5 separate regions of the Homo sapiens genome follow, and all the other regions are linked to region 2. Evidence: promoter capture Hi-C in human tissues and cell types (Jung and others, 2019). All regions are on one chromosome and are shown on one strand. The core of a region is centred on a gene start or on the middle of the fragment in contact, and the rest is flanking DNA. Distances in the headings are between cores, read along the strand shown. Region 1 overlaps LINC02981 (long intergenic non-protein coding RNA 2981). Region 2 holds the start of HOXA5 (homeobox A5). Region 3 overlaps LINC02981 (long intergenic non-protein coding RNA 2981). Region 4 overlaps JAZF1 (JAZF zinc finger 1). Region 5 overlaps SNX10 (sorting nexin 10).

Region 1 (4,210 bases), core at 1,325-3,824, 660 kb after region 2:
TTCCCAGAAGCCACTCGGTTTATCAGTATCATTCAGTCAGCCAGATGGCCTGAGGGAGCATCTTATGAGAGGTGTGGAAAGTATGAAATTGCAGCAGACCCTGCCCTCCCTGTCCTGTCATCCAGTTAGGGAGATGCCCTGTGCATATCCAGTGAGCCGCCCAGGCAGGGATAGGTGTCAAATAAACACCACAGGCCATGAGGACTAGGAGTGCTCAGGGACTAGAGAGGCTCTCCAAGGGCTAGGCTTTCTGGAAAAGCTTAGGGAATAGGTGGAAAACACCCAATGCCTTGCGGGATGGCTCAGAGAGGTGGAGAAGGGAGGAGCCTCAGGAGAGGTGGGGACACTTTGTACATGTATGACAGGAGCACACTCGTCCCAGCCCAGTGACTGAGGCTCAGATTCGGCAGACTCAGCAGGGCAGCTGTTGGGCATGCAGCCATTCCTGCTTGCTCCTCCATGGCATGGTGCACCCAGAGCTGCCTCACAGGCTGCTGAGTTATGTCTTTTAAGCCAACACTTGGCTTCTGCCCTGAGCTAAGCTTCTGACTGGCTTTGTGAAGGATTACCATGGTATTTCCAATCCTTCACACAGCATCTTTGTGATCCAAACCAAAAGTGCTTTTGGCTCAAGTCTCGCAGGTTCCCAAACCCACCCATCACTAGTATTCTTACTTTCTTCTCTGAGCATCTCAAATTTGCATTTTCTTTTCTGTGTCATTCGCTACTGCCTCACCCCAGGCACTATCCCCTGCAGGGCTCACCACATTTAGATTACTATGGCCTCTCCCACTGCCCCAGCTGGTCTTCATAAGAAACTCATTCACTAAAAGATTTGAAAATGTGCACACCTTTTGACCCATTAATTCCATTTTTCAAAATTTATCGATGACTAACTTATCTTTTCTACTCATTCTTTTGTTTGTTCATTCAGTGTGAACCAGGAGACTTTCTAAGTGCCAGGGCTACACAATGATGAACAAGCCAGAAACTCCAGGCCCTGACAGAGCTTATAGTCTAGGTCATTTGTTTGTTTTTCCCCTCAATACACACACATACATATATATATATATATGCGCCCTTGGGCAAGACACATCTGTCGTGCTCTGAGAGATAGTATGCGGTCACTGTGTCATACCATAAAATAAAAGCCCATTGACCACACCGCAGACACAAAATGACAGTTGCAGAGGGAATAAGAAGGAAAACTGTTTCAGGTTAGGTTTTCAAACAGTGTGCCACACCCCAAGAGCCTCAGGGGTGGGCTGGAACTGGGTGGGATGTGGGCACTGGCAGAAAGAGGAAGGGACACTTCATTTGTGTATCACCTGCGGGACTCTCCTGTTCTCAGCACCCCCCTGCCCCACCTCTCCAACCAAGCAGTTCTTCATCATTTTCTCCATGGCACTCAGGGGCTTCTTAGTAAGATCTATTACTATTTGAACAGAATGTTCTGTGACTGAAAAAGTTTGAAACCACTAGTTGTCTCAAGGTTCTTAAAGTGCTTCTATATTTAGTCTGGAAATCTTCCAGACTAGAAGATTTCCAGCCCCCTGCTGCCCCAATTCCCTTTAAATTCTCTAGCTTTTTATGTTTCATTAATGGGCTTTAGTGATATCTGATACATGTTGGGTGTGTAATTCATGGGCAATAATATATGGACATGGACATGATAAGTAACAAAATCTCATCAACCGTGCAAACATGCTAGACACTCAAAGTCCTCAAACAATTCTGCTCAATATTTAGCAGAGGGAAAAACTAGCTTAGTTAGGAACACAACAAAAACAGCAAAAATGTTAGCAGTTTTAACAATTTGACATGCAGCCTAGATGGTGTTATTTGGCATTTTATATACTATTTGCTAAGTTTCCACAATGTGCTAGATAGCAAACTCTCTGCTCTGATTCTGGAGCCAATAGATTTTATAACCACACTTTCATCATTCACATACCACCATTGTGATTTTTTTAACTGAAGGCCACTTGTACTACTATATATTTAATTTAAGCAATTATTTTGTATTTAAATAAATTTATTTTAAAAGAAACCTTTTTATCACTACCTATACATAGAAGACCAAAAACATTTGCCATAATAGAAGGTAACTGTAACAAATTCACAACGATGAAAACAGTAATTTTTTTGTGTAGCATTTACTATCCCCTTTGGTTTCACCAGGGATATGGGCACTGCATTTTGGGAAACATTGTTTGAGCTCATACCATCACAGTATTCAGCTAAGAAATTAAAAACAGGTGTTGTTTGTCTTTGTCCCCGCCACCTCATCCTACAAACCCCCTGCTCCCGCACACCCACATCCCCGCTCCCCTCTAAGCATTCCCTTGCTCTAAGCTAGCCCACAACCAGTCATTGATAAGGTATTAAACTATCACCTTATCATTTTTGCATATGGATAACAGACGAATTTTTCAAAACTCAAATATCAGATCTTTATTGGAATTTTGGATATAATGCAAGAGAATTATATCATTTAATTCAAAGCACATACAACAGGTGATCGACTAACCACTCCTACTCATAAACCAGTCCTCATGCCTCTCCACAGGCTCATTTTTAGATTTCCCCCAAAACACAGAAATTTGCCCAAGAATGGATTAAAGCCTTCAGGGTCAGACAGATAATGGTATTTTCAGATTGTGATGACACTCTAGAAAAAAAAAATATGGCTCAACCATTTCATTAGCCTATACCTTATTGTAACCACATCTATAGCTACCTTCTTCCCCCAACCCACCCAGGAGAGCAGGAGGGGGAACTGGTCATGGAGACTGGAGATTGAATTTACATCAGTGGTGTGGTTGTCACGCATTGTTCTCTCTTACATTCTGAAAGTCTTTCCTCCCTGGCTGTTCATTATGAAATCCTCCACCCAAGGGACTTTGGGAGCATTGTGGCATGTCAGATTTTCCAGGAAGCAGACTCTGAAATAAGATTGTGTCCAGGGGGCCTATTGGAGAGTTGTCCAATAGGAACCACACCTGTGAGTGAATGCGGGCAGCAGCCTTGGGCTGCAGGAGAGGCTGAACTGGGCTGCAGTCACAGCAGAGGCCTCAGCTGGCCACACAGGGGTTGGGATGGCCCCTAGAACTGGCCCAACTGAGGCAAGGGGGTCCAGCCTTTGTATCCCCCACAGTGGCCAGTCATTGAATGCAAGATACCCCCAGGAGAGGTCATATCCTTGAGCAAGGCAGCCCTCTTTGGCCAAAGGCCAAGAGCTTCCACTGTAAGCCACCAGCAGGCAGTGCTCCTGGTAGCCGAGGGAATGATGCTTTGGTCCTGAAGGAGAATCTGGGTAGAGCCCCACAGCATCCACTGCAAGAGTAAACCCACTAGCGCCTGGCTCCCGGGACCCTCCAAGTAGTGGCAACATCAATAAACCATAGGGCCTGATTTCTAGGCAGCACCTCACAGTGATAAATGATGGATCAGTAGGCCTGCTGGCTGCAAGAGAAGCTGAGAGGCAGGTAGTGTTGGTGTGTATGTGGGGGTAGGGCAAGGGAGCAGAACACCCCTCGTGGACCTTGATATTGTGCTCTACCTTTCCGCATTCATCCCTCCTCCCCTGAAAAAGTCCTGGGCAGGAAACAAATGTGGTCCTGATGCCTATTGGGCCATCAATCTTGAGATACAGCATTCAATTTCAAAGTTATTTGACCAAAGCCAAGTTACAAATCTTGAAGGAAGCTGGCTTTGCAGAGAGACAAGGGCATTTGAAAGCATGAACTGGGGTGAACCTTATAAGCAAAAATCTCAGAAGTCCTTGGTTGCCAACAGTTAGCCAAGCACTTGCTGGACTTACTTTGTTTCCTGGGCCTATGGAAATTTTACCTACAGGTAGAATTGCCCATGCAAAAGCCCGAGAAGTAACCCTGGGGGAGAAGAGTGGCTCACACTGCAGATTTCCTCCCTGGTCTTCTTTCTTCCCCTAAAGCCAGACCATGCAAGAGAGTGATAAAGCCAAGTTCACGGCTTGTCTCCATTCATTTTGTTCTTTTTGGGAAACGGGGAGGAGCCTGGAGCATTTCTCCTTCCACATTTCCTTAAATGGGTCTGACTCAGGTAGAGAGGAGACCACCATCATTGTGTAGTAAGACAGGGGTGGGAGTGACGGGGCTTCCATAGTTACCATTTGCTGAATGCTTAGTGTGCTCGGCACCATGCTGGGTCTGCATGTATCTTCTTATTT
Region 2 (4,584 bases), core at 17-2,516:
CCGCTCCCAGCCTCCGATAGCGCCCGCGTCGCCGCCACAGCAGCGTTCAGGACCCAACGAGGGGCCCAGGGCCATGGGAGCCGCCAGAGTCCTGGCTTCCAGACGTGCCAGGGGCGCCTGCAACGCCGGGCCTCCAGCGGGGAGACTCCACTTGCCTCTCAGCTATATTTGTGATTTACTTGAGTCTTTCGGAGCCGTGGAAAATAACTACAGAGATACTAGGCACTGCCAAGGAATGCTTCCATTATCGCCCTCATTTTACTCCTGGAGGTCTAAGCAAGACCCCAGTAACCCGCCCCACGGATCCCCAGACCCCAGGCAGCCTCTGTGGCTGCAGGGAGCCTGGGCCCACTCGCTGGGTTCAAGGAGAACCCTCCGACTTGGGGCCCGGCTGGCTCGAGGAACCGGACCCTGTGATGAAGATTTTCCAGGCTGGATACGTAAGCAAATCAAATCGCAAACTAATGACACGAAAACCATATTCACACGAAAGAAAAATCGACTACGGTTATAAAAGTGTATGGAATTTGACCTCGCCTTGGAGAAACACTACACAAAAGCTATCTTTAATAGACGCCTGTCATTTAAGAGCGGCAGGGACACTGTCCCTCATGCGCTCGCAAAAACAGAGCCGTAATTGTAGCTGCTGCTGCTGCGGGCAGGATTTATTTCTCCAATTGGCTAAATGGCTTTCCCCCTTCCCCGAAGGTGATATCTGTATTTTCAAAATTCAGAGCTGCTGGCAGGACGGTCAGTACCGACCCCAACCTCGACACAAAAATAAGAGGGGCTGCAAAACGGGGGAAATAAAGTTGTTGTAAATAAAATGCAAGTCACCACCTCCCCCCAATCCTCTGCATCCTCGCCGGGCGCGCGATCGGCAGCTGACGGCCTAACAATTGGTACATCCTAATGGAACTGCGAGGGAAATGCAATAATTTTGCCATAATGGGCTGTAACCTCAATTCGACCCCGGCCCTTGCAGCCCCCGGTCGGAAGCTGGGCGATGAGCCCTGCCTCCAGCGGGTGGCGCTCGAGTCCGGCTGAACGGCGGCAACTGGCGGCGGGCACGCGCCCGGGGCGCGCGCGCCACCCCCCTCGCCTCCACCCAACTCCCCTATTAGTGCACGAGTTTACCTCTAGAGGTCATCAGGCAGGATTTACGACTGGACAACAAAAGCACGTGATTCGAAGTCGTACCCCATATTTGGGTGCCTACGTAGGAGGGAACCAAGTACATGTCCCAGTCATTTCCATAATTCATCATAAATTGTGCAAGGGTGCTATAGACGCACAAACGACCGCGAGCCACAAATCAAGCACACATATCAAAAAACAAATGAGCTCTTATTTTGTAAACTCATTTTGCGGTCGCTATCCAAATGGCCCGGACTACCAGTTGCATAATTATGGAGATCATAGTTCCGTGAGCGAGCAATTCAGGGACTCGGCGAGCATGCACTCCGGCAGGTACGGCTACGGCTACAATGGCATGGATCTCAGCGTCGGCCGCTCGGGCTCCGGCCACTTTGGCTCCGGAGAGCGCGCCCGCAGCTACGCTGCCAGCGCCAGCGCGGCGCCCGCCGAGCCCAGGTACAGCCAGCCGGCCACGTCCACGCACTCTCCTCAGCCCGATCCGCTGCCCTGCTCCGCCGTGGCCCCCTCGCCCGGCAGCGACAGCCACCACGGCGGGAAAAACTCCCTAAGCAACTCCAGCGGCGCCTCGGCCGACGCCGGCAGCACCCACATCAGCAGCAGAGAGGGGGTTGGCACGGCGTCCGGAGCCGAGGAGGACGCCCCTGCCAGCAGCGAGCAGGCGAGTGCGCAGAGCGAGCCGAGCCCGGCGCCGCCCGCCCAACCCCAGATCTACCCCTGGATGCGCAAGCTGCACATAAGTCATGGTAAAGCCAGCCTTTTTCTAAATCCACGCGACCGCGGGGACGCGGCTCTCGGTCCCCCCTCTCTTCTCTGCCGCCCTCTCCCAGTCTCTCTTGGTCTCATTTCTCCCAGCCCTGCGGAGCTCTCCTTGCCGTTCTCCCTCCCCTGCCTTCCTCCTTCCTCCTCTTCTTTGCGAGCACCCTGCGCTCACAAATAGTGGGGGAAATGGGCGTTCTCTGGGACAGTTTAGACGTTGGAAGGGGGAGGAAGCAAAAAACCCCTCTGGAACCCCACGCCTTGGGACGCGCTCCCGGGTCAGGCCAGCCGAGCAAGGCGCAGAGAGGTAGAGGATGGCTGTAGCAGCCGTGAATCGGGCTTGTCACGGCGGATAATTTATGAGGAGGGCTACGCTGGGGAAACAGCGTTACTAATTACAGCCCCCGAAAAGGGGCTTGGGGGAAAGAATCGAGGCGAGAGCCTGCAGGATTCTGAATTTTGGGGGCAGGAGGGAGAGAGAAGGAAAGGGAAGAAAAAGAAAACAGGCTCCCCAACCCTGCAGGCTGGAAACGGGAGGCGGCTCTCGGGGCTGGAACTTTGAGGGAGGGTGACCCGAAGGCCACTTGGGCGCTCAGGAAAGGGCCTTGCTTCCTGGGTTTCTGTGCGGTGGGCAGCCTGGGAGGGCTGTGCCTCCCGATCGGGGCGCCCGGGGCAGGGCGGAGGGGGCAGGAGAGGGGCCAGGGAAAGCCGGAGTCCGCCGGGACACGGCCCCAGCCTCAGATGGGCAGATTGTTCCCAGGGTCCAAATCGTATTGTTTTCTTTCTAGAAAGGAAGAGAGAAGGAAATTCGGGAGGGGTGTGCGGGCTGGTAGGCAGAACTTGTTGAGCTTTTCGCCTGGGTTCCCTGCTCATGACCCAAGCTTGTCCCCCTGGCGGACTTTGGAAGACAGGAGTTGGTGGCTAAACCGCTGACTTTTCTATTGCAGACAACATAGGCGGCCCGGAAGGCAAAAGGGCCCGGACGGCCTACACGCGCTACCAGACCCTGGAGCTGGAGAAGGAGTTCCACTTCAACCGTTACCTGACCCGCAGAAGGAGGATTGAAATAGCACATGCTCTTTGCCTCTCCGAGAGACAAATTAAAATCTGGTTCCAAAACCGGAGAATGAAGTGGAAAAAAGATAATAAGCTGAAAAGCATGAGCATGGCCGCGGCAGGAGGGGCCTTCCGTCCCTGAGTATCTGAGCGTTTAAAGTACTGAGCAGTATTAGCGGATCCCGCGTAGTGTCAGTACTAAGGTGACTTTCTGAAACTCCCTTGTGTTCCTTCTGTGAAGAAGCCCTGTTCTCGTTGCCCTAATTCATCTTTTAATCATGAGCCTGTTTATTGCCATTATAGCGCCTGTATAAGTAGATCTGCTTTCTGTTCATCTCTTTGTCCTGAATGGCTTTGTCTTGAAAAAAAATAGATGTTTTAACTTATTTATATGAAGCAAGCTGTGTTACTTGAAGTAACTATAACAAAAAAAGAAAAGAGAAAAAAAAACACACAAAAAGTCCCCCTTCAATCTCGTTTAGTGCCAATGTTGTGTGTTGCACTCAAGTTGTTTAACTGTGCATGTGCGTGGAAGTGTTCCTGTCTCAATAGCTCCAAGCTGTTAAAGATATTTTTATTCAAACTACCTATATTCCTTGTGTAATTAATGCTGTTGTAGAGGTGACTTGATGAGACACAACTTGTTCGACGTGTAGTGACTAGTGACTCTGTGATGAAAACTGTGACTCCAAGCGGTGTGTCCCTGCGTGCCTTTATAGGACCCTTTGCACGAACTCTGGAAGTGGCTCTTATAAGCGCAGCTTCAGTGATGTATGTTTTTGTGAACAAAGTTACAAATATTGTCCAAGTCTGGCTGTTTTAAGCAAACTGTGATCAGCTTTTTTTTTTTTTTTTTTTTTTTTGTATTTGTTTTTAAGGAAAAAATACTGACTGGAACAAAAAATAAACTTTCTATTGTAAGTTCTCTTGGTCTGGTTTGTGCCAAATAGTGAGCGGCTCTGTCTGCTTTTCTGTCTGTCTGTGCAGTCTTGGAAGCTGTTGGGTCTGAGGCTACCTGAGCAGATGACCTGTGCAGGGAGACCTCATACCAACACTGTCCCATCGCTTCCCTACCTCTGACCCATTGCAAAGTTCAGGGCAGAAGGTGGAAAAAGCTGTAGGCTGTTCCAAAGCCCCAGAACACCCTGTCCATCTCTGAGGAAACCAAGTTAACTTGCTGGGTACAAAAAAGAGAGAAAGAGCAAGAAAAAAGGAGAAAAAACCCAGGGCTTTGTTAGCCGCCCTCAGGCCACACAGATCCTGCCTCTTTCCTAAGGCTGTCCTAGGCCTCCACTTGCTGAAGACGCTGCTATGTCTGTCTGTGGACCCCAAACCCTCTGCCCTTAACCCATCCCAGCACCCCTTCCCCACTCTTCACCCGGGACCCAGTTGGCTTCTTTTGCTACAATTAATTTGCTACAAATTGAAGGTACTTACCCCATCCTAGCTCGATTGGGAAACTCCTCAGAGCAGCTAAAGCGCAACTAGAGATTTGCACATTTACCGACTGCTTACACTGATGCCGTCTTTCCTTTTAAAAGTTATAAAACAGTAAACTTTATAAGCCCCAGTTCCGGCTATATGACATTTGGGTGCCAAATGAATAGGGTTTTG
Region 3 (4,344 bases), core at 1,469-3,968, 730 kb after region 2:
AAAGAGAAAAATTTAACTCAAAAGTCTTCATGGTTGCATTCTGCTGACAATTGGCATTCAATAAGAAATTTCAATGCAAAAAAAGAAATGGTAATGCTTCCTGTGAAATTTATCTGCCTGTGAAATCGTCAGCAAATAATATAAGTGGACGTTTTTCTAATGGTGGCATGGGGTAAAGACCCTCTTCAATATGAAGTAAAGTGTAATTGTACTATAAATTTACAGAGCCTAAAATTCTTAATTAACAAAATTGATGCTCATTGCCTGACTGGAATGGGATATCTAAACTAATGCCATTACAGCCCTTTAAAATGATCTAAATTGCATACCATATGATATATGTATTTTTGTAGGCTATATGCAGAAAAGTGAATTTTGCTTTCCATTAAAAAAAAAGACAATTGAATCGACAATGGTTATTGTAATTGGTATCACACAGCAGTGCTCTGCAATTTAATCACTGCTTCTAAAAATGGAACCGTGGATAACTACTGTGTTCTGAAAAGTGGCGGCCACCCCGTGCATGAGAGTGCTGTGCGCATTTATAAACACCGCCTCTTCCACGAAGTTAAGCTTTCCTAAGAGATGCCATCTCTAATTTTGTAAATAAGAATGACCCCCCAAGGCTAGCATTCCCATCAAATATTTATTAAAACGCACCCCAAGACCTCTCATCTCAAACTGGAATTAAACTCCTCCAAATGTCTCTGAAAGATGAGCGTGATTTAAAACGTGAACCAGCACACTGACGAAGTGAAAAAGAGGGACTCTGGGCAAAGTGGTATTTTGGTATCCGTAAGTGGTGTCAGGTCTTCCTGGAGAGCTAGTATTATAAATTAACAGATGAGACATTGTGCAGAGCCTCTAAAAGGAAAGGCTAAACTGTTTGAAGGATAAAAGCCCTAATCTTATTAATATTTTAGATCCTGCAAGACATTGAGGCTCCATCTGCTGTCAGTAATACCTGAGAAAGAATCAAGGCAGCTGGAGGACAGAAACCACGGCCTCCCAATGGTCTGCTGACCTTCTTGAGAGGCAGATATCATGTGACAGCAATTGCCTGTCTCAGCAGACATGCTGGAAACAGGAGAAAGTGTTAAATATAACCAGGTAGACAGTGATGAATTGACATGCTGAAAAATCGAACGCTTCAGTAATCAGCCTAAGGATCTGATATCAACAACATTTTTCAGTTTTGTCCAAATTCATTGAAAGGTGTACTTTAGCAAGTTCACTTCTCATTGGTAAGACCTTTCATCTTTATGCTGCTTTTCTGATTGGATTCAGTGTCATGATCGGTTTGGGTGGCTCTGTGCGCAGAAAGCAGACGGGCTGCTTGTGAGAGAAGGAGGGCTGGGATGAGCACAAATAAAAATGGGTTTTACCCCAACATTAATTTTAAAACTATTAAATATCTATCAAAATGCTTATTTAGAAAGAATTATTGAAGCCATGGTATATGAAAATGCATCAGGTACTGTGCTCCAACAGCACAGTAAACCTGAAATATTGAAATATTACCCTCTATTTTGCAGCAAGAAGCTTCTATAACTATAATTCTAATTACAGAACTCTAATTAATGTCTATGTGGCTTCAGATAACTTCATTAAATCTTTAGAATATTTATATTCTCCAAAGACAATCTCTATCCGTTAGAATAAAAAAATCCTATAAAATAACTTTTTTTAAACGCTGCTGATACGCCTTTCTTTTTATGAGACATGTAAGTCATAAAATTTACTTTAAGGTTTCATTCATCTCTGTAACAGTATTCCAAAAATGTGTTAACTCAAAAACACTTTTTTTCCTGGTACAAATGTATAATACAGCTATCAGCTGAGATCACTCTCTGCTTTGAGGTTTAAACAAAAACTGGCTGAAGCCTCCTTCCCACATCCTGTGAAGGGCCAATGTCTTCCCCTAGATGTCTGAGAATTCCTGACAGCTTATATTCTCATGGTCACTTCCCTATCTCCAGTGGCTTCTTTTGGCTGGATTCTTGACCTCACTTGTGTCTCGTCTCCCATAGCTGCCCCATGCCAACCTAGATTTTGAATGTAACCCCTTTTACTTGATTTATCCCTCCACCCCCAGAAAACCCCTCAGTTCTCGTGAAGCACAGTCTTTCCATCTGCTTAAGGCTCTCATTAGGTCCCAGGGTCTGCCGCCATCTTGCCTTCTCACTCACTTCAACCCTCTCCTCTCTTATTTCTCCTCTGCTCTCCACCCGCCCCCAAATTCCTGTAAACATCTTCCACAGAGTAGTGTGCTCTCTCTCAGTCTAGCTCCAGACTGTCCAGGCTATCTCCTGAGGGCCTTATCTTCATAGCCAAATGCTTCCGTTAAGGTGGCAGGCAGTCTCCTCCCTGAAAGGAATTGTTGGCTGGCTCGTAAAGTAACACCATTTTCCTCTAGGCTCCCCATATATTACAAGCAAGATCTGACTCATTCCTGCAAATACTCAGGAAAAGAAACACAAAGGACAACTGATTTTGTGATAAGCACTATAGGAAAGCATGGAAAGTCTACAACAGATAGGAATATAAAGTCAGAAATTGGGTGCACTATAACTTGAGGCCAGGGCTTTGAAAGGATCCTGCTTTCAAATTCGCCCTGGTTGGGGTCAATAAAAGGATTGATTCATAGAAATGCCAGAGAGCCATGTTAAGCTGGTCATGAGCCTTCATCCTGATGTCTTCCTAGGAGTAAGCTCCTGGCTTTTCCCAGAAAGTTCAGTGTAGGGGCTCCATCAATAGTAGAACATAAATTGAGACAATGCCCTACTACTTGCATGGGTAGAAAAAATTCCAGGAACTGACAGCAAGTAAGTTGCTTTCCCTTCACTCCCAGCTTGAATATAGGAGATAAAAAAAAGTACCTCTCCAATATCCATACGATTCACACTGCTCAGAACTATGTGGATAATAACACAACATGTGACACACACCTACATTAGAAGAACAGCCTTAGAGTGTTAAAGCCTGGAATCCATCAACACAAATAGAGTGTGACTCGATTCATTAGCAAACTCAGACACAACCGGACCTCTATGGGGATAATTCATGCAGAAGAATTGTATTTTAAAATGTCTAAATAGGTTGCTATTTAGTGCAATTTTTTCCAGCTCTTAAAGCAAAGAAATGACAATTTCTAAACAAATGATAGAAGTTAAGTCAACTAAGTTCAAGCCTAAACAAACATTTTTATCTTAGTTCAATGCTATAAGTGTATATTCAATGTCTGTTATGTTTAACACAGTGGGAGGCAGAAGTGAGAATGCCCTTCAGTATACATTGAAATAAAACCATTGCAAACTGCCTCAGAAGGAATTGAGTAGTTAATTAATAAGCTTTTATTTAAATGTTGCAACCCATAAAACAATTCCTCTGCTACAATATGGCTGCTGTATTAGAGGCAAGCTGGGCAAAACTTCCCTGGGCATTGAAAAAAATGTTGCATTTCTAGGGACCTGGAAAGAAAGTGACTTGTCACAGGCTTTTTTGGGTTTTTTTGGGTTTTCTTGAGATGGAGTCTCACACTGTCACCCAGGCTAGAGTGCAGTGGTGCGATCTTGGCTAACTGCAACCTCTGCCTCCCAGGCTCACACCATTCTCCTGCCTCAGCCTCCCGAGTAGCTGGGACTACAGGCGCCCGCCACCACACCCGGCTAATTTTTTTATATTTTTTAGTAGAGACAGGGTTTCACCGTGTTAGCCAGGATGCTCTCGATCCTTGTGATCCACCCGCCTCAGCCTCCCAAAGTGCTGGGATTGAAGGCATGAGCCACCGTGCCCGGCCAACTTGCCACACACTTAATCATAATTGACTAAACAATTCCTTTGAATCATAACATGTATGATTCAATTTATTTATATCAAATTTATATATATGATATGTTATTAAAATAGTAAACATTTTTATAATATAATAAATACCAACCATGTTATATTACGGTACTGTCCACTGTTTCAGGAACTTAATGTATACTAATTCAAGTACTTATCACAACAACACTATAAGGTAGGTACTACTATTATTCCCATTTACAGATGGGAAACTGAGGCATGGAGAGATAGTATCTTACCCAAGGTTTACACAAATAACCACTGGCCAAGCTGGGGTGTGAACACAGGCAGTCTGGTTACCCAGGCTTCACGCTTGGCATCTGATGTGTCATATGCTGGTTCCACTAAATGTGGGCCCACAGCTGAACCTCAACAGTGTCATAGTAGCAGCACCAGAAACAAGGACAGGCTTCCTGTGGTCTGATTACCAAGTACCCTGAGCTCTGGAGATTCAAGAAAACCTCAGAAATTCAAACTAACTGCAGGAAGGGTAATGGC
Region 4 (4,767 bases), core at 1,640-4,139, 780 kb before region 2:
TTGGCAGCCCAACATCTGCTGGGAAGTGTGCAGTTCCATCCAGTCAGCCACAGCCTCCCAGTAGGAGATAAGCCGGATGAAGGAGGCTGAGTCTGGCAGCGGATTCCAGGCCTGATAGAATAATGTCTGACATTCAACTCTGCAAAGTTGGGATAGAGTGTGTGGAGACGATCCCACAGGAGCCACCAGCTGGCCTGTTTTAACTTTGGCTGTTGACAGTTCATGCCGAGAGCACTTGTTTCTGAATTCAACAAATCTGGAAACTCGACGTTTTAATTTCGGGTTTTCGTTTGGAAGAGTCATTTTACTGGAACCCAAACCCTTGCAGACATTACCCTAAGGACATGCTGGTCTTGTCTATACCACTGAGTAGAGAAGACTAGAAAAACCTCCAACACCAAATGGCTGTCCTTGGGAAAAGCAGCAGTCAGTTATGCTAAACAACCACAGAAGGCATGGTCTTAGAATGTCACCAGAGTCCCCAGGGAGCTGCTGAGGCTCATCTGGAGACTGCCGCCAACAACCACAGCCTGGGTTCTTGCCTCCAGACCACGGCCTCCTCATAACTCCCTTCGGGTCCTTAAAGAGACCCTGTTAAATGATTAAAATGCTGTGGAAGGAAATTTTAACATATGCAATATCTGATTCTTTTCATCATCATATCACTTCCCATTTCTTCCACTTATCCTGGCTTCTAGGCGAATGTTGATCATAATGTTTTACTGCCAGGGTGAGGAACTTTGAGGAGACGGCTCTGGCACCTCTGTGAGTTGTTAGAAGCATGTATCTCTGGGTGCTCCAGGAGGTTTATGAGTTACCTGGCACAGATTAAACTCAATAAAAGGAAATATTTTGGTCAAATGCTTCCTCTTTTAAATTAATACTCTCTTGACTATTATGCAAAAAAAAACCCATTATTAAAAGCTGTTAGTACTTTTGCTGACTTGAAAATATTAGGAAAAATTTTCCTATTAAAAGTTATTTTGCTGACTTTAAGTTATTTGGTTATTTTGCTGACTTTAAGAATATTTTATAAGGCCTGGCGCGGTGGGTCATGCCTGTAGTCCTAGCACTTTGGGAGGCCGAGGCGGGCGGATTGCCTGAGCTCAGGAGTTCGAGACCAGCCTGGGCAACACCGTGAAACCCCGTCTCTACTAAAATACAAAAAATTAGCCAGACATGGTGGTGTGAGCCTGTAGTCCAGTCCAGCTACTCAGGAGGCTGAGGCAGGAGAATTGCTTGAACCTGGGATGCAGAGGTTGCAGTGAGCTGAGATCGTGCCACTGCACTCCAGCCTGGGCGACTGAGTGAGACTCCGTCTCCAACAAAAAAAGAATACTTTATAACCAACATAAAATGTGGTTCGAAAAGTACCATCTAAATGAAAATCAGACCTTATTTATTTGTTCTGTTTGTCTTCAATGCACTTCCTCATTTTTATCTTTATGTATTTCTTTCTGTAATGATTTATATCCATTTCATCCAAAAAGTTTAAAACACAATATAAAATGCCCTGTAAAAATTTATACTAAGTTCCCTAAAACACTTAAGAAATTCACTGAATTTTTCTAGGCATACACTTCATTCATTCGAATGAAAACTTGGCTGAGGAAATCATAGAGTTCGTATAACTGACTTCTAATTTCTTCTTCCTTATACCTAGGCTTCTAAAGCCCAGGTGTGATATAAATTCTTTTTTTAAAAAAATACTTTTCTATTTTTGTAGAGACAGGATCTCACTACATGGCTGATCTTGAACTCCTGGTCTCGAGCAGTCCTACCACCTCGGACTCCCAAAGCACTGGGATTGCAGGCTTGAGCCACCATGCCTGGCCAGAAATTGCATTTTTAAGTGAACAGTTCAGAGCCCTGTATTTTTCATGGATTATTTTAAGAATTACGATGATGATGAAGATGATATAATCCCTAACACTGCAACCCATTATGAAGTTACCAGGGGCCCTCCAAAATTTTGCTATCAAGGCAACATCCCTTAAACAAGTTAACAGAGATGCTCTTTTTCAGTGAGTCTTCTGGAAGAATCGATGCCAGTCTGCCCTTATGACAAACATATTTCTTAATGAGATCTGATTTACGAAGTTTTGACAATTATGCTTTTCCCCTCTCTTACTGCCACTTTAAGAAAAATCATGCTGGTAAGCTACACTACAAAACTTCTGGCCTGCAGAGGGCTCTATAATACCATATTTTCCTAGACAACACTTGTAAAAAGGAAAAAAAAAAAAAAAGATACTTGCTGGAAGGGGGAAGGGGAAGCCCAGAGGCTTTATAATGCTTCCAGCAGGCAGTCTGGTTGCAGTCTGGTAAACAGACTAGGAATTGTGGGCAAAGCCCTTTTCCTTGAGTTTTCCACCAACCATGAGATCAGATGACTCTGTCCGGACTCATTACTTTAATAGCCTACAGCTAGTTCACATAGCAGCAGGAGTCCACCAAAAAGGCATTTAATTATTGAAACTAAAACTGGTACTTGTAACTGCCGGTTAGTAGTAGTCAGATTTTTTCAGTATTTCAAGTAATTTATAAAGCGCTTACACACATAAATAGAAAGCTTTAAATGCTGGTATTCCATAAAAAGTAAATAAAATATATTTTTGTGCATTAAGACTTAATTAAGTGGCATGATTTCATGTCACAAATTTAAAACGGGCAGGTGAGACTTGCCAACATTACTACAGCTGTGTTTTACATTAGGAAATTAATTAAAATGGTCGTTTATGCTTTTTTCCACTTACGGGTATTTAGACCTCTCTATTACACCATATATTTTCCCTTCAATCATTATATTATGGTAATTTATCTTAGCAGGTGATATCTTACTCTGTTGTCGGCGGAAGTGGGGAGCATTAGTCAACTAAAAAATTTGTGCTGGGCTACTGAGGCAGATCAGACAGCTGGAGGCACTTGCTGCTGGCCAGGAAAGAAGAGGGTCTTATTCACATGCTCCCCTTTTATCCCATCTTAGCAGAATTTATTTTCTATTTCACTAGAACAAAGTTTTTTCTGATGTCAGGATGGGAAGCAGAGGAAAGCAGAAAAATGTTTGACACGCCATATGACACATCGTCATATAGACTTAGCTGTTACATGAGACCTTATTTTTGAAGCCAACCTGCTTACACAGTTCAGTTATGGAATGTGCAAAACCTAAAACCAATTAAAACATGCCCAAGTGAATAGTTGATATGCAGTTTGTAATGCAAATAAATAATGTCCTGATTTTATATATCAAAGCTAAATAAAGACTCCCTTGAGATATCAAGAACAAATCGATCACTCTGTACTTATTTACTGCAGTTATTTATGTTAACAATTATAATAAAATTATGACTTGATGAAGTTTTAATGATGTAAGTAATTTTGCTCCCCAAGAGGCATCAGTTGCCAAATGAAGCTGAAGTTTTAAGGAACGCTAAGGACTCACTGTACTAAAACATCACCATAGTGCCTTTAATATTGGATGTACCTTACAATAATGTGGATTAGTTTTGGGTCAGGGCCAGGAGCTTTTGGTTCCTCAAACACCAAAGGCACTTCCCTTAAGGCATTCACTCCTGTAAGAGAGTCCCTTTAGCTTGGATTCTAAGGGTAGCAATGAAGGAGGATTCCAAGGTGCAAGCAGTAATACAACTTGCACACAGAGTAAACTCCACAAGTTGTTGATTGTAAAGTTGTTTGGAAACCAGGATTGAATTTGCCTCTACATACATTGTCATTAGTGATATTTAGATTTAGAGCCAGTTCCCAGCTAGTACTTTTTGAAATGATTACGTATTAATTATTTAATAAATGGTGTGGGTAGAATTGGACTGCTGGTCCAATCTTCCTTGGCGTTCCAGAGCACTCCTGTAGTCAAATAGCACAAAACTGAGCTTGCTCCTTCCTTTTGTAACCATAAGTCACCCCTCTTTTGTATGACTTCACCCAAGCAAATTTGGCACTATTGTATTGATTATAAATATGTTATTTCCTGTTGCTACCTTATCATCGTAAAATGCATCCTCATGCTTGTTCTGTGTTATCCAGCTCTGATAGTTACATTTTTGACAAGATAAGCAGCTACTGAGCTTTAAGGCATTGTAGACATGCTTGCATTTTCCGTTTACCTTTGAAAAATTAAATGACTTTTCTTTAACTCTCATCACAGGTTTTAGCATGAATGACTTATGATCTTTATTCCTTATTGGTTTATTTCTCCAAATTTTCCCATTTTAGTTTCTATTCACAATGGGGGGCCAGGTTCAAAATATTTTTCTCTCCTAAGAGCTCAAAAATCATAATTCTTCAAAATATCATTTTACATTTCATGCTAATGAGATAGTCTACACACCTATGTTGAGCATTTCCTCTCCTAAGAGCTCAAAAATTGTAATTCTTCAAAATATAATTTTACATTTCATGCTAACAAGATAGTCTACCCACAGGTGTTGAGTATTTAAAGTTGCCCATTACTAGGACCTGTGTTTCAGTGCTACCTTCATCACTTAGTAAGCAAGGGACCTTCAGTCAGCCTCTTAACTTTTAAGAACCATGATACTTTGCATGCTTGAAAGCACAAATCTGAAGACAAAGGACTAGGCCAGATAACATCACAAAGTCCCATGTTTAGGTTATTGGTGTTAATGAAACTTAGGCTGTATTTCTTTTCAACAATCAATGTCATTTCCCATATTTAAGCAGCAATTTAGTATAAGCTCACCAAATTTTGTTTTAAATCTCACTAGCTGATTTTTTTTTTCTCTTATC
Region 5 (4,452 bases), core at 1,233-3,732, 780 kb after region 2:
TATACCTTTATATTTAAATAAAAACTGGTTTATCTTTTAGCAAAGATGTTGACATATGATCATTTAGTCTCTACTGATAGTTCAATAATTATGTAAGAGGAGACACTAAGACCAGATACAGGGGACAAAACTAACACACTAAAACCCAAGTAGAATTTTGTCCAACATAAGATTTTTCCGATATAACGATCTGTGAAAAATAGATCATGTATTTCAGACCAAATGAACCTTACCTTATATTCTGCTTGTTTAAACAAGTAATAAGGAAAGTAAATCTCTTTTGGCCATTAATATCAATTTAGTGAAAATCCAAGGTCATTATAATACCAAATCCTTTTCTACAAAATAAAACAATTATTTCTTAACAAAGGCAAAAATGCCTAAAAATGCACAGTATTAAAACCAAAATCTAGCTGTCCCCTTTGCTTCAGCAGGTTTACAGTTTGAGAAAATATTCTTTACTGGTCTATTAGAAGGAAAAGTAAAACCTTTGTGCTTTTTAAAAGGCAAAACCTCAAGCAAAGCAGCTAAATCCTTCTTTTTCCCTCTGTGTCCTCCGCCCTGGGTCCTCCCAAAAGATGACCATGTCACATGATAATGATTAATTTACCAAGTACAAGTAGCTAAGTAGTAAATCCCTCTTACTACTCTTTGAGATTTATTTTCTACATTTACAAATATTCACCATTCTTGTTTTTAAATACTTCAGATTAAGAGAAGAGTTATAGAGCAACAATCCATTAATACGAACTTGGATCGTGAAGTCTGTGAAGTCTGAGCAGAGTGTTTCCTGTGGCCTCTGTCAGCGGTTTCCTGCCTGCCATAAGTACAAGGAACTGTTCATGGGATTGTACTCGTGGCTTTGTTTCTGTTGGAAATGTGTTTTATTTTCTTTATAAAATAATGGGTAATCTTTAAAATTGATTTTAGATGGTTTGAGGCATTACACCACAACAGTAATGAGCACTAATGCCAATGATATTGGACACAAATTCATTTTAGCTTTATTTCATGTCTGAAGCAATTCTACTGAGCCTTGAACTGCTCACGTGTTGTTATTAACTTGCTAGTAACTTAACACATGGGTACAGCAAACAAAAGTGATCAGAGTCCAGGTTGATCGGGACCTCAAGGCTACTGTCCTTTTTCTTGAGCTATAATTCAATTTCCAATTTTACTGTACATTAGACTCATTATTTCCCAGCGTTTTCTTTTTCTGCTCAATACTGCCATCTGGAGGACACACAGATGAAAAGAGAAGGAGCCAGGCTCACCCAGCTCACAATTCCAAAGAGCCAGAAAGATGTGGCTGGGGAGGGGACATCTGAACACTCCCCCAGGCCTAGAGTTCAAACCAGTGAGTCGGCTAGGTACAGTTTTGGTTTTTGGAATCTCCTCTGTTTCTCTGGCTAAATTCATGCCACCATACTCCATGAGTTTTAAATAAGCAAAAATAATTTTTAAATGTATTTATATGCTTATTTTAGTCAGATAGTTCATTCTGAAATTTAAAATGAAAATTTTTGAGAGTGTTTTCCCATCTGGTTAGGTGAGCATAATTAATTTATTTTGAGTACTATTTGGCTTACTATCAGAGAGGGCTGTGACTGCCACCATCATAATATTAAATACTATTTTTTCCTTAGTCATGTTTGTGCCATATTTTCCACAAACAAATCTAATAGCCCAAAATCAATTTCAAACCTAATATAAAGAGTACTTTGTAAAACAGTCAATAAAATGTCATTTGTAGAAACCTCCATTTAAAAAGTATATGATTTTCAAACCTTTATAAAAGGAATAAAAAATAGCCTCTAGGATTTTAAAAGAATTTCTAGAAAGATATTTATAGTGCAAATCAGAAGTTATTCCTTTCCCCATAACAGTTTTAGACTAAACAAAGCAAAATCTGTTTTTTTTCCCTAAACTGGACACAGTTGAAAAGCACAGTTTTCCTCAACATGATTTTATTAGATGTATTATATGCTGGTTTAGCTGAGAATATATAGCTATGCAAAATCATTTCATCCTAACTAAGGATGTCCTGGGTCTGCTGAACCCAATACAATGATATATATACATAACTGCATAGTACATGGAAGGTTAGCAGTTTGATGTAGAAAAAAAAAATTAACTCAGCCTGTTTAGCTCTTACTATAAGAAAAAATAAAACCTACAAATCTTCATTGAAGACATTCATGATCTATGCTGTGGTGCCCTCTATTGAACACAAAGACATAAAAATCGTGTGTGTGTAAAACTAGCTGTCATGGTTCAACACTAGCCTTTTGTAAAAAATCTTTAATATTCCTTAATATTTGAAGAAATACAAAACCATGATACTAAAGTCTAAACTGTAGGGTAAATGTAGTTGTATTAATGGGATGAATTCAGTAAAGAAGGGAAGCGGCTCCCAGTCATGAACAAATCTATTCAAACCTAAATTGAAAATCCCATTCAAACCTAAAAATTAGTAGGAATTCCATTTTTCATAGTTAGAGACTTACTGAGTTTATATTTTTTAGCCTATAACTTTCTTTTCATAACTATTAGAAGGGACTTTAAGTTTATAATTACTCAGGGGCAAGAATACAAAAGGGAGATTATAGTTAAGACTGAAGAAAAATGAATATATTTGAAAAATCTCACAATCATACCAAATTTAGCCAGCATTTAAGAGTACTGCTAATTTTAAATTTGCCAGGTTCTGGGATTCATATAGTATGTCCATCTTTCCTATAATTTCTTTATCTATAAAACTGAGATAATACCCAACTCCTAAGATTTTTAGTACTGAGACTAAAACATGTAAAATGCCAAACACGTAGAAAGTGTTCGATAAATGGTAGAAATTATTCTTATTTGGCACCTAGTCAAAGAAACAATTTTCCAATTCCTCTACAAAGATCAGTACTTTCTTATTACATATGTATCATTTCACAAATGACCTTAAAGAAAAATAGGTATATATACACATATACAAAGACATTGTGGTTTCAAAAGGTTTGAACATATTTAGTGCTTCTGGTTCATAACTTCAAAACTCACATGAAAACCAGGCTTTAAAAATGCATGCGAAAAACCTACAATACAAGCATGTTTCCATGTTTTAATGCTGTGGTTCCTAAAATTCCTCTACAAACAAGGTACAGGCTATTGATGGCTGGCCCTACTTAACAGGTAACCAGTGGGGGCTCAGAGGATGTCAAACTGGGGCCAAGACACAGTGCCAAGGTACACATCACATCCAGTTCCCTAGAGTGGACCCTGGTTGGGTGAGGGGAGGGGGCACCAGGGGCAAAGACATGGAGGGTACTACCTTACACAACCCGGGCAAGCACAGATCTGAGGGACACAGAAGGGAGGCTGGGGAGGGTCAGCAGGGGCCGCAGAGCTCAGTTCAGGCCTGAAGCCAGCCCTGTGGTATTTGACTCCTCACTTCCTTCAGGTTTAGGCTGTGTGGAAGCACCAGCTTTCATTTTTAAAGTGAAATATTAACTTGTAGACAAATGTTCACATACCACAGGGGAACAAATGATATCACAAGAGAACCCCCTGCCAATTCCATGATTTGACAATCCAATCGGATGACAATCCAGATTCAGTGTTAATGAATCTAGCCGTAGCCCTGGATGTGTACACAGTGCTCCCCCTAGAAGGAAGTGTCAGGACAAGGACTTGTTCATTCTGTGCAGTCCTATGTCCGTGGCACGCAGCCTGGCCCAAAGCATTCACTTAATAAACATCTATTGAATGAAGGATCGCTGCATGGTTTTTAGAGTTTTTTTCAAGTCCTTTTCATCTGTAGGACACAACCACCCAGTGAGGTTGGCTATGTGTGGGTACTATTATCCCACTCTATAGCAAACAAAGGCTTAAAAGGAATGAAGTGACTGTTCCAAGGCTCACATGCAGCTAGAAAAAAAACCAGGAACCATGATTATGGGAGACCTAGAACCCGGCTCCTTGAGTTCCTGAACCAGGACACTTTCTACTATGACATCTGCATCAAACACAACCAGCAAACAGTCAAACCATGCACTATGCAAAAATAACCTGGCACAAGCATAACCCCACTATGGCTGAATGACACTCACAGGGTCATTCATTTGGGTAGATCAACTGTGGATAGAAAGGTTGTGTTCAAAACAACGAAGTAATTCCTGGTCAAAAACACATACCCTGCACTTAACCAGCAATATAATTCAGAGGTACGTGCTGCCTTCTGACCTGAAATAAGACTTCCCTACAGAAGACAAGATGCCACAGCTCCCCGAGGACAACATGTCCTACACTAGAGTGACAGGCAATTCTGTAGAATTGTGTGGCAGGGACCACATCTCAAGGGAGAGGCCATCAGCCACCTGGGCCTCATAGAGACAACAATTAAAATCAGAGGCCTCCTCTAGGGGAAAGGGCAGGAAAAACTTGGCCAGGTCTCTGTCCTGCCAT

The links. Contacts are between HindIII fragments. The study calls those that stand out against the background at their distance.
Region 1: a fragment that was not itself captured here is called in contact with the fragment with the promoter of HOXA5 in region 2 in 1 of the 25 tissues and cell types used here (spleen).
Region 3: a fragment that was not itself captured here is called in contact with the fragment with the promoter of HOXA5 in region 2 in 1 of the 25 tissues and cell types used here (spleen).
Region 4: a contact is called between a fragment that was not itself captured here and the fragment with the promoter of HOXA5 in region 2, in 2 of the 25 tissues and cell types used here (bladder and lymphoblastoid cells).
Region 5: a fragment that was not itself captured here is called in contact with the fragment with the promoter of HOXA5 in region 2 in 1 of the 25 tissues and cell types used here (dorsolateral prefrontal cortex).

What each region holds. Positions count from the first base shown.
Region 1 is chr7:26,487,012-26,491,221 of GRCh38, reverse strand. The region is part of intron 1 of LINC02981 (long intergenic non-protein coding RNA 2981); the gene reads right to left. Among named protein-coding and RNA genes, the nearest start is that of KIAA0087, 50 kb to the left of the region's middle. The HindIII fragment of the contact is 4,346 bases long and covers 402-4,210 here.
Region 2 is chr7:27,140,363-27,144,946 of GRCh38, reverse strand. HOXA5 (homeobox A5) reads left to right here and starts at 1,266. Exons shown (of 2, transcript NM_019102.4): 1 at 1,266-1,901; 2 at 2,862-3,895. The coding sequence starts at 1,340. The coding sequence ends at 3,112. The region is part of intron 1 of HOXA3 (homeobox A3); the gene reads left to right. HOXA-AS3 (HOXA cluster antisense RNA 3) reads right to left here and starts at 4,583. Exons shown (of 3, transcript NR_038832.1): 1 at 4,408-4,583. The HindIII fragment of the contact is 16,485 bases long and covers 1-4,584 here.
Region 3 is chr7:26,416,094-26,420,437 of GRCh38, reverse strand. The region is part of intron 1 of LINC02981 (long intergenic non-protein coding RNA 2981); the gene reads right to left. Among named protein-coding and RNA genes, the nearest start is that of SNX10-AS1, 19 kb to the right of the region's middle. RefSeq lists an enhancer at 4,106-4,344. The HindIII fragment of the contact is 3,319 bases long and covers 1,059-4,344 here.
Region 4 is chr7:27,918,818-27,923,584 of GRCh38, reverse strand. The region is part of intron 2 of JAZF1 (JAZF zinc finger 1); the gene reads left to right. Among named protein-coding and RNA genes, the nearest start is that of TAX1BP1-AS1, 180 kb to the right of the region's middle. RefSeq lists an enhancer at 379-428. The HindIII fragment of the contact is 8,119 bases long and covers 1-4,767 here.
Region 5 is chr7:26,366,506-26,370,957 of GRCh38, reverse strand. The region is part of intron 5 of SNX10 (sorting nexin 10); the gene reads right to left. Among named protein-coding and RNA genes, the nearest start is that of LINC02981, 30 kb to the left of the region's middle. The HindIII fragment of the contact is 8,434 bases long and covers 1-4,452 here.